3 separate regions of the Homo sapiens genome follow, and all the other regions are linked to region 3. The links are contacts of gene promoters, found by promoter capture Hi-C in human tissues and cell types (Jung and others, 2019). All regions are on one chromosome and are shown on one strand. The core of a region is centred on a gene start or on the middle of the fragment in contact, and the rest is flanking DNA. Distances in the headings are between cores, read along the strand shown.

The links. Contacts are between HindIII fragments. The study calls those that stand out against the background at their distance.
Region 1: a contact is called between a fragment that was not itself captured here and the fragment with the promoter of GART in region 3, in 1 of the 25 tissues and cell types used here (dorsolateral prefrontal cortex).
Region 2: a contact is called between a fragment that was not itself captured here and the fragment with the promoter of GART in region 3, in 1 of the 25 tissues and cell types used here (H1 embryonic stem cells).

The regions. Positions count from the first base shown.
Region 1 is chr21:33,900,608-33,903,427 of GRCh38, forward strand. No RefSeq gene overlaps it. Among named protein-coding and RNA genes, the nearest start is that of ATP5PO, 14 kb to the right of the region's middle. RefSeq lists an enhancer at 1,174-1,769. The HindIII fragment of the contact is 3,345 bases long and covers 1-2,820 here.
Region 2 is chr21:33,193,486-33,196,588 of GRCh38, forward strand. It overlaps LOC105372787 (a long non-coding RNA gene), which reads right to left and starts at 2,032. Exons shown (of 3, transcript XR_937675.3): 1 at 1,826-2,032. The HindIII fragment of the contact is 3,695 bases long and covers 1-3,103 here.
Region 3 is chr21:33,540,655-33,543,579 of GRCh38, forward strand. GART (phosphoribosylglycinamide formyltransferase, phosphoribosylglycinamide synthetase, phosphoribosylaminoimidazole synthetase) reads right to left here and starts at 1,463. Exons shown (of 22, transcript NM_000819.5): 1 at 1,411-1,463. SON (SON DNA and RNA binding protein) reads left to right here and starts at 2,384. Exons shown (of 12, transcript NM_138927.4): 1 at 2,384-2,515. The coding sequence starts at 2,439. RefSeq lists silencers at 1,339-1,628, 2,669-2,758 and enhancers at 1,779-2,228, 1,793-2,524, 2,429-2,488. The HindIII fragment of the contact is 11,246 bases long and covers 1-2,925 here.

The sequences.
Region 1 (2,820 bases), core at 149-2,648, 360 kb after region 3:
GCTTTGGGAGGCTGAGGCAGGAGGATTGCTTGCATCCAGAAGTTCAAGACCAGCCTGAGCAACATAGTGAGACCTTGTCTTTACAAAAAATAAATCAGCCAGGCATGGTGGCACATGCTCATGGTCCCGGGTATTTGGGAGGCTGAGGCAGGAGGATCTCTTGAGTCCAGGAGGCCAAGGCTGCAGTGAGCCATGATTGTGCCACTGCACTCCAGTCTGGGTGACAGAGTGAGACCCTGTCTTAAAAATAAAAAGTTAAATGCCATTAAAAACAAATGCAATAATTAACTTTCCCAACTATACCTAGTTCTCTCCAAGTCTGATGAGGGCCCCCTCACACAGACCAGAGAGTGGATGGAATCACTAGTACAAAACATGTAATTATTACCTATTTAACCACGGTTAGTAGCCAGCATAATCAAGGCAATACTTTTTATTCTCAAATATTTAGTTTTTCTTCTTGTTACAGAAGTAATACTTGTTAATGCAGAAAATTCAGCAAGGAAAGAAAAACACAAAGGAAATAAAATCACTTAATGGAGATGTTCTTCTACACAAAAATAAAGGTTTTGATGCACTTCATTTCTGTATTTTTTGTGTGTGTGTGCATTTTAAATACTCTTGTACTATTTATTTATTTATGAGACGGAGTCTTGCTCTTGTCACCCTGGCTGCGCTCGGCCTCTTGTACTATTTAATAGCTAATATGCATCGAAAATATCCCATATACAAGGGACTGTAAAACTTTCACCTTGATTTTAAAAAAATACTGTGAAGAAAATCATTGTAGGCTGGGTGTGGTGGCTCAAGCCTATAATCCCAGCACTTTGGGAGGCTGAGGCCAGTGATCACTTGAGCCCAGGAGTTTAAAGCCAGCCTGAGCATCATGGCAAGATCCTGTCTCTACTATAAATATGAAAACTAGCTGGGTGTGGTCGCACTGCCTCTAGTTTCACTGCCTGTAGTTTCAGCTGAGGTGGGAGGATGGTTTGAGCCCAGGAGGTTGAGGTTGCAGTGAGCCATGGTCGTGCCACTGCACTCCAGCCTGAGTGATGGCGTGAGACTGTCTCAAAAAACAAAACAAATCATTGTACATAGATCTCTAGGTTCTCTCTGGTGACCTCGTAAGGCGACATATGAAGGGCCTCATCATTCCCCAAGATTGTATGTGCTTGATCAACAGGAAGCTTGCTGAGTTTGACTCTGAAGGATCTGGGCAGCATCAGCAGCATGAGGCTCCCGCAAAGACGGTTTGTCCATTGGCAGTCACATGTCTGTAGGAGCTGTGATTGTGTGTATGACGCCACCTTCTGCAGAGCAGGCCTCACTGCAGGCAGGAGGCAGGCAGTGAGTCTGGGGGAACCTGGAATGTGGTCATGGTTAGGTTGCAGACTCAGCTGCGGAGACAGAACTCAATATCCCGTGGCTTTGAAGAGAGGTCTATTTCTTCATCGTGTTTAACAGCCCAGGGGCAGCAGTAAGGCTTGGCAGGGTGGCTCTGCCCTTGGCATCGCTTGCCATCTTGTCTGCATCTAGCTAGAGGGATGGACTAAGGATTGCTCAAGAGGGCAGTCCAGGAAGGCACACCTCGCTTCCTCTCCTTTCCCATTTGCCAGAACTCAGCACCAAGGTCAGGTGCTGCCAGAGGCTCAAGAATGTGGTCTCTAGCTGAGTAGCCCTAGGCCCACCTAAAAGGTGGCTGAATGGTCTTCGGGCCAGCCAGCAGCCTCAGCACTCCTGGTTCCTGGAAAGGTTGAGGGGCCTCAGCACTCCTGGTTCCTGGAAAGGTTGAGGGGCCTCAGCACTCCTGGTTCCTGGAAAGGCTGAGGGGCCACGTGGTGTCTCCGTTGGTTGTCACATTAGGTGATCATGTATTAAAAGCTTTGCCAGGAGGAAGCTGGAGTTGAAGCCAAGCATGAGTGTCAGGAGTGTTGTGCCACATGGAGGGCACGCCAGTCCCAGCACTAGCACATAGGGAGCAGCGCTGGGCCATGTCATTGCTCTGTAGGACTTCTTTGCTGCAATGGTCCTGCCTCTGCCCAACCAGGGGTGGTTCTGGGAAGGGAACTGGTTTGTTGGCCAAAAGTTCTTGGAGGTTGACTAAGGAACAGGCACCTGAGCGGGCTGTTGCGTGGGGAACTCTGTAACTATTTTCTCTAGAAGACCAAAAGGTAAAATGTAGTGGAAGAGCTGACCTGGGAACTGGTTTTGGTTAAAAGGTGAATTGGGAGCATCTTAGGGACAAAGCGGGAAGGGGCAGGGGACCTACCTAAGGTAACTTTTGCCCGTTTGCTCCAGCAACGTGTCGGCGCATGGTGTTAGTTATACAGTGGTAAAAACATGGGCTGTAGGGCCTGACACCAGCTGTCCAGACAGGTGACTCTGAGCACATCTCTAGGGCCCCTCAATCTCTTTCCTCATTTGTAAAGTGGGGTGATGTCTCTCCCACCCGTGTGACAAGGCTGTCATGCAGCTTCAGATGTACATGAAATGGCCTTGAAAGCTACAGAGCAGCCTACAACTAGGTGTGTTCATGTTAGGATCAAGGGCAAGAGGCCTCCCTGGAGGGCTATGGATCAAACACAGATCCGATGATCTAGTAGGGACCAGGAACTCTGAACAAACCCTTAAAGACACGGGATTTTGGCAGGCAGGACCAGATAGACTTTGCTGAGTGACCATGTGTTAGGTGCTGTGTCTAACCAATTAATTCCTAAACATAATCTACTCAAACCAAATTCTCTAGGCCAAAAGGGCTTTTTGGCCTTTATACTCAGGGGATACCAAAAAAGGACATAAAAATAAAGCCTTCTACATTCC
Region 2 (3,103 bases), core at 397-2,896, 350 kb before region 3:
GCCAAGGCAGGTGAATCACTTGAGGTCAGGAGTTCAAGACCAGCCTGGCCAACAAGGTGAAACCCCATCTCTGCTAAAAACACAAAATTAGCCAGGCATGGTGGTGCATGCCTGTAATCCCAGCTACTTGGGAAGCTGAGGCAGGAAAATCATTTGAACCCGGGAGGCGGAGGTTGCAGTGACCAGAAATGGCACCATTCCACTCTAGCCTGGGCGACTAGAGCAAAACTCCATCTCGAATAAATAAATAAATTCAGAGGTTAATGGCTTGACTCTTAGCATAGACACACAGATGTTACGCTATAGATTATACCAGGAAGAGGTGGGAGGAGCCACACATCCCACATCAGAAATAGCCTTTGGAAAACTGCAAACTGGATTGCGTGTGCGTTTGGCTGCAAAATAAATCATGAGTTTCTCCCAAACATTAGATGGACAAAGGAACAATTCACTTTTTTTCCCCACTGTGATCCATTCACAATGGAGTATATTCCTGGAGGATTCTAAGATGTGTTTTGTTCACTAGAGAAGACTTTTTAGGAGTGTTTAGTTTAGGAAATGCTTAGCTGGCTATAGAAGACAGGCGCACATTCTTATCTGACTACAGAATCCAGGTGTCACCTGTGGAGTTAACACAAGGCCACAGATGGCCGCCTTCAAGGTGACCCTGCCCAGAGCCTAGGGAACAAGGTGAGGGTTGACTGAGAAGGGAAATGGTGGTCCTGCTGAGAAGGACATTCCCCAAGCTCATGGTCTGGTCCACAAGCCATCGGTCACACAGAGGGTCACACAGATATGGGATGCCCAGTTAAATTTTAATTTCTGATAAACAATGAATTTGTTTAGTATAAATAAATATGTCGTAAATATTGTATGGGACATACTAAAAACATTACAATATAATTTAGTACATGTACTATGTACTAGTATATGTACTAAATTTTATATATGTGTATTTTAATATTAAAAGTTAGGCCAGGCACGGTGCTCACGCCTGTAATCCCAGCATTTTGGGAGGCCGAGGCGGCCGGATCACCTGAGGTCAGGAGTTCAAGACCAGCCTGGCCAACATGGCGAAACCCTGTCTCTACTAAAAATACAAAAATTAGCTGGGTATGGTGGCAGGTGCCTGTAATCCCAGCTACTCAGGAGGCTGAGGCAAGAGAATCTCTTGAACCAGGGAGGCGGAGGATGCAGTGAGCCGAGATCGCACCACGGCACTCCAGCCTGGGCAACAGAGTGAGATTCTGTCTCAAAACAAAAAAAAAAAGGAAAAAGAAAAAGAAAAAAAGTTAGTATGTTATACCCAACACATATTCAAGGTTGATCTGAAATTCAAATGCAACTAGGTATCTTGTATTTTTGCTAAATGTGGCAACCCTCGCACACAGCGATTCGCTAGTGGCTTTGGAGGGCAGAGGAGGTAGTTCCCTGAGCCCTCCACGTGACTTTTCCTTCTGTCCTCCCCTTCTCTGCTCAGAGGCCCCTTCCTGGGAGAAGGCTTCGCTGATCACTCTGTATACCACTGCACCCTTTTCCCACACTCCCGGCCCCCTTAGCCTGCCTTTTCCTCCATAACTTATCATTGGATGACATACTACATACTTTGAGTAAATGATTTTTTTCATCTTTATTCTCAGCCCTTTGTATTATGTCTGCCACAGAGTGGGCCTTAAAAAATATTTGTGGAACTGCATGAATGAGAGTGACTCCATGGACAAGGATAAAACACTGAAAGTAAAATAAAGGCAGAACTAAGGTAAATGAGTATTGCCATTTCGACTCACCTGATAGATCTGTGTGTTTTAGTCAGTGCAAAACTCACCTGGCGAAGGGAACACCAATGAATAAGATGACGATTAGGTAGGTCCAAGGTGGGGCCCAAGATTCTGTAGCCCTACCACGTTCCCAGGTGATGCCGATGTAGCAAAGAGAGTCCTTGAAGAGAGGCAGGGCACGGTGCTCACGCCTGTAATCCCAGCACTTTGGGAGGCTGAGGCAGGCAGATAGTTTGAAGCCAGAAGTTTGAGACCAGCCTGGGCAACATGGTGAAATCCAGTCTCTACCAAAAAATACAAAAGTTTATCAGGCATTGTAGCATACACCTGTAATCCTAGCTACTCAGGAGGCTGAGGCACGAGAATCACTTGAACCCAGGAGGCGGAGGTTGCAGTGAGCCAAGATCACACCACTGTACTCCAGCCTGGGTGACAGAGCAAGACTCCAACTCAAAAAAGAAAAAAAAAAAAAGAAAGAAAAAGAAAAAGAGAGAGAGAGAGAATCATTGAAGAAAGCTTGGATCCAGGTAAAAATAAAGAGCAGGACACAACCAGAAAAGTCTGTGGTTCTGTTATATCATTGGACAGTGTAATGAAATGTAATGTGTTTTAAAAAATAAAAATTCTATATTCCTAAATCTTGAATAGATTCCTATTTCAGAAACCATCCATTCTGATGAGTCTCCCTTAGCTCTGAAAGAAAGAGGATAAAAACCAAATACAAGAATAATAAAAACCACCTGTCCAAGATGAACTGGAGAAAGGGTGCTAATCTCCCTGCGACAACTCCTACAACTGTATTTGATCAGGATGATAAGAAAAGTTTTAACTCATGCCTCAAGCAGAGCCACAAGACCTGCCTTTTTTGATGACCTTGAATTCTACAACACAGGCTCCAAACCTCACATCTTGTCAACTCTCACCATGAGAAAAGTAGGAAACACTCTCTCACGTTCCCAAGTACTCACCATACCCCCCAAAATAAGTAAAAGCTTACTTTAAAAAATAATTTGTTTTCAGAGCAGAAATCTTCTAAAAGTTGAATTCTGATTCCGTACACACCTGCGGAGAGGTACTTGCCATGCCCACTGTCTAATATGCTTCTCTTTCTATGAACTAGGGTAGGGGTTACAAATAGCTGCCATAGAGTTACTGTCATTATCAGCCTGCAATCTGTGAGCAGCTGTTAAAAACCCACATTTTGTCTCAATTGTAATCATTCAAACAAATAATGCTTACCTACAGTTCAAAAGAAGTCAGTCTGGAATTAAGTGCTGTTCATACCAATTATGTTTCTTCTTTCAGATGTATGGAAAGGGAAAATA
Region 3 (2,925 bases), core at 213-2,712:
TCAGCAGTAGTAAATGTTAACTTGTTACATTTACTTACCACAAGACAAACTGGTAACAGGAAAAAGAAAATTGAAAACTTATTTTGATGATGTTGGGATTACATATTTTAAGAAAAATGTAAGCTGACAATATACAAAACTAACATTTTTTTGAGCACTTAACCTTGGGCAGGGTACTATTTAAAATGCTTGTCATGAAAGAATCCTATGAGGGAGATACTATTACTATCACCAATTTGCAGATAAGACAAGGAGGCCCAGATAGGTAAATAACTTGCTGGAGGTCACACAGGTAAGAGGGGGTGGAGCCTAACAGAAGCAATTTTGCTTCAGATTCTCTCAACAAGTGAAACGATGATCATTGAAAATTTGAGAAAGGAAAAAAAAAAACCCTGTTAAATTACAGTCTCGGAAGGAACAGCTACTTTAGTGTAACGGGAAAACACATTTTACTTGCCATGTGTATCTGAAATAAACAGATTTTTTATTTTATTTATTTATTTATTTGTTTAGACAGTCTCTCTCTGTCGCCCAGGCTGGAGGGCAGTGGTGTGATCTCAGCTCACTACAACCTCCGCCTCCCGGGTTCAAGCGATTCTCTTGCCTCACAGCCTCCCAAGTAGCTGGGATTACGGGCGTGCGCCGCCACGCCAGGCGAATTTTTGTATTTTTAGTAGCGACGGGGTTTCACTACGTTGGCCAGGCTGGTCTCGAACTCCTGACCTCCAATGGTCAACCCACCTTGGCCTCCCAAGTGCTGGGATTACATCACATCCGGCCAGAAATAAACAGATCTTTAAATCTAGAGCAAATGTTACATCTTTAGTTTGAATATAGCAGTAGTGTGGGAAAATTCTGTTTACTCTAGTGGATCACTGAAAATAGCCTTACTACCCAGTGGTGAGGACGCCTGGGCTCCTGAGTCTCACACAGCGCCTTGGCCTGGGTAGAGACGCTGCCCCATACTAGCAGGAAGACCTTGGGGGACTTCACTAACCTTGGGCCTCATTCCTCAGAATGGGTAACATAAGCAGAATAAGACAGGCAAATAAAGCCGTATCAGAGGATATGGAGAATAAAGTAGAAACCAACTACAAAATTAACCAAGTAATCTGCCAGAGACAACGGGTGCATAAAGAGAAAGTACACCAATTTAGGGTTATGTCCTAAAAATGTATAAAGACACAAAAAGGCCTTGACATCTTAGAAAACAGGAAAAGTAAAAGAGCAAATAGAAACCAGCTAACAGTAGCAAGTGAAAAGCACATGGCCAACCCCCACCCACCGCATTTACAAACAACAGGAAAATTTCTACAAATCAGTTTCTATGGTTTCACTCAGTTCGCGATCTTAAATCCCCAAACCAAAGCCTAAGCGCGCTCCGTGTAAAAGCGGAGGGGGTTTACGCACCGACACCGGGTGGCCACCTGGTTCCCGCTTGCCCGCTCGCCGGAAGTCGGCCCACCGGGACCGGCGCGGGACCAGCGCGGCACCGCCCCTCACTGCCCCGCCCTACGACGGCTTCCCTGCCCCATTGGTCCGCGCGGCCCTGGGTCTCCGCGGCGAGAATCTAGTCTGATTCCCTCCCGCCCTGGGCGCTGCCTGACTGCTCCCCAGCCGAGACACCCAAGCCTTAGCACGTTTATAATGTGACAGTGGTACGGGGTGCCACGCAGTGTTTCCAGGAGCGCCGGGGGGGAGCGCCAAAATGCTAAACCCATTCTTAGCCAATTGTGCGCCGCTCACGAGTCAGAGCTGAGCAGCTACCGCGGAAAAATCTCGTGACACGCCTGACTCCTGATGAGACTAAAATGCACCGGGCTTTGAATGCCGGTCGCTTAGGACATCCGGCCTATTGCTAAAAAAAAAAATGAGGCTGGTTATAGAACGCACTGGGGAAGACACAGGGCAACAGCGAGTTCCTCCTCTCACATGCCAGTGGGGGCGGGGGCTGAAAAATTCTCTCCCGGATGCATATCCCTGTCGAAACTGAACTTGGCGCCACCTGAGAGCGCCTGAAAGCCGTGTGTTAAACACCGGGTTGCCCTTCTTGCTCTTCTTCCTCTTCGCCTTTAATCTCAGGCACTTAGCAAGCCTGTTAAGGCTCCCAAACACTGCTGGGGACTGACAACTTATGCGGACACGGTCGCCTCAAGAGAGACGGCTCCTGTAATGGCGCCTGCGTCAGACACTAACATGGCGGACATAGTCGTGCGCGGCGCAAACGTCAGCACCTCTACCCCAGCCGCTCAGAAACAGCAGAGGAGAGCAGGGCCGTGCTCACTGATTGGTCCCTCGGTGGAGCGGGCCGGACCGGGCATTCCCTTTGGAGCCAATCAGGAAGGCGAGAGACCGAATTGGCCCGTGCGCCTCCTCCCGAGGCATGCTGGGAGCCTGGAGGACTAGCGAGGAGGAGTTGAGAGAACGGAGCGGACGCCATGGCGACCAACATCGAGCAGATTTTTAGGTCTTTCGTGGTCAGTAAATTCCGGGAAATTCAACAGGAGCTTTCCAGGTAAACGCCTCCCAGATTCTTCTGCTCCCAACGGACCGTTAGGCCCTCACCTAGCCTTCTTTGGCACCTTTCTTCGGAGACGCAGTCGTTCCCCGGCTCAGGCCCCGCTAGGGCCCCGCCTGGGCCTGGGATCCATTTTCCGGGCCCCCCCCAACCGCCCCCCCAGCCGCTCCCTTCCTTTTCCCTCGAGGAACTTCGCCTTTTCCGAGGTAACCCAAGACTCCCTGTTTCAGAACCGAGTTAAGATGTTCACCCTTCTCCCCTGTTTGGGTCCCCCCTGCCGTTTAGCTACTCGTAGGCCCGGTTGTCCGCCAGGGACGGGCCTAGTTCCTTCCTCAGCTCCTCCTCCGCCGCCGCGTATCCCCTCCCCCTCTCGCCTCCGCGGATTTTGCCGGCCGGTGCCTATGACC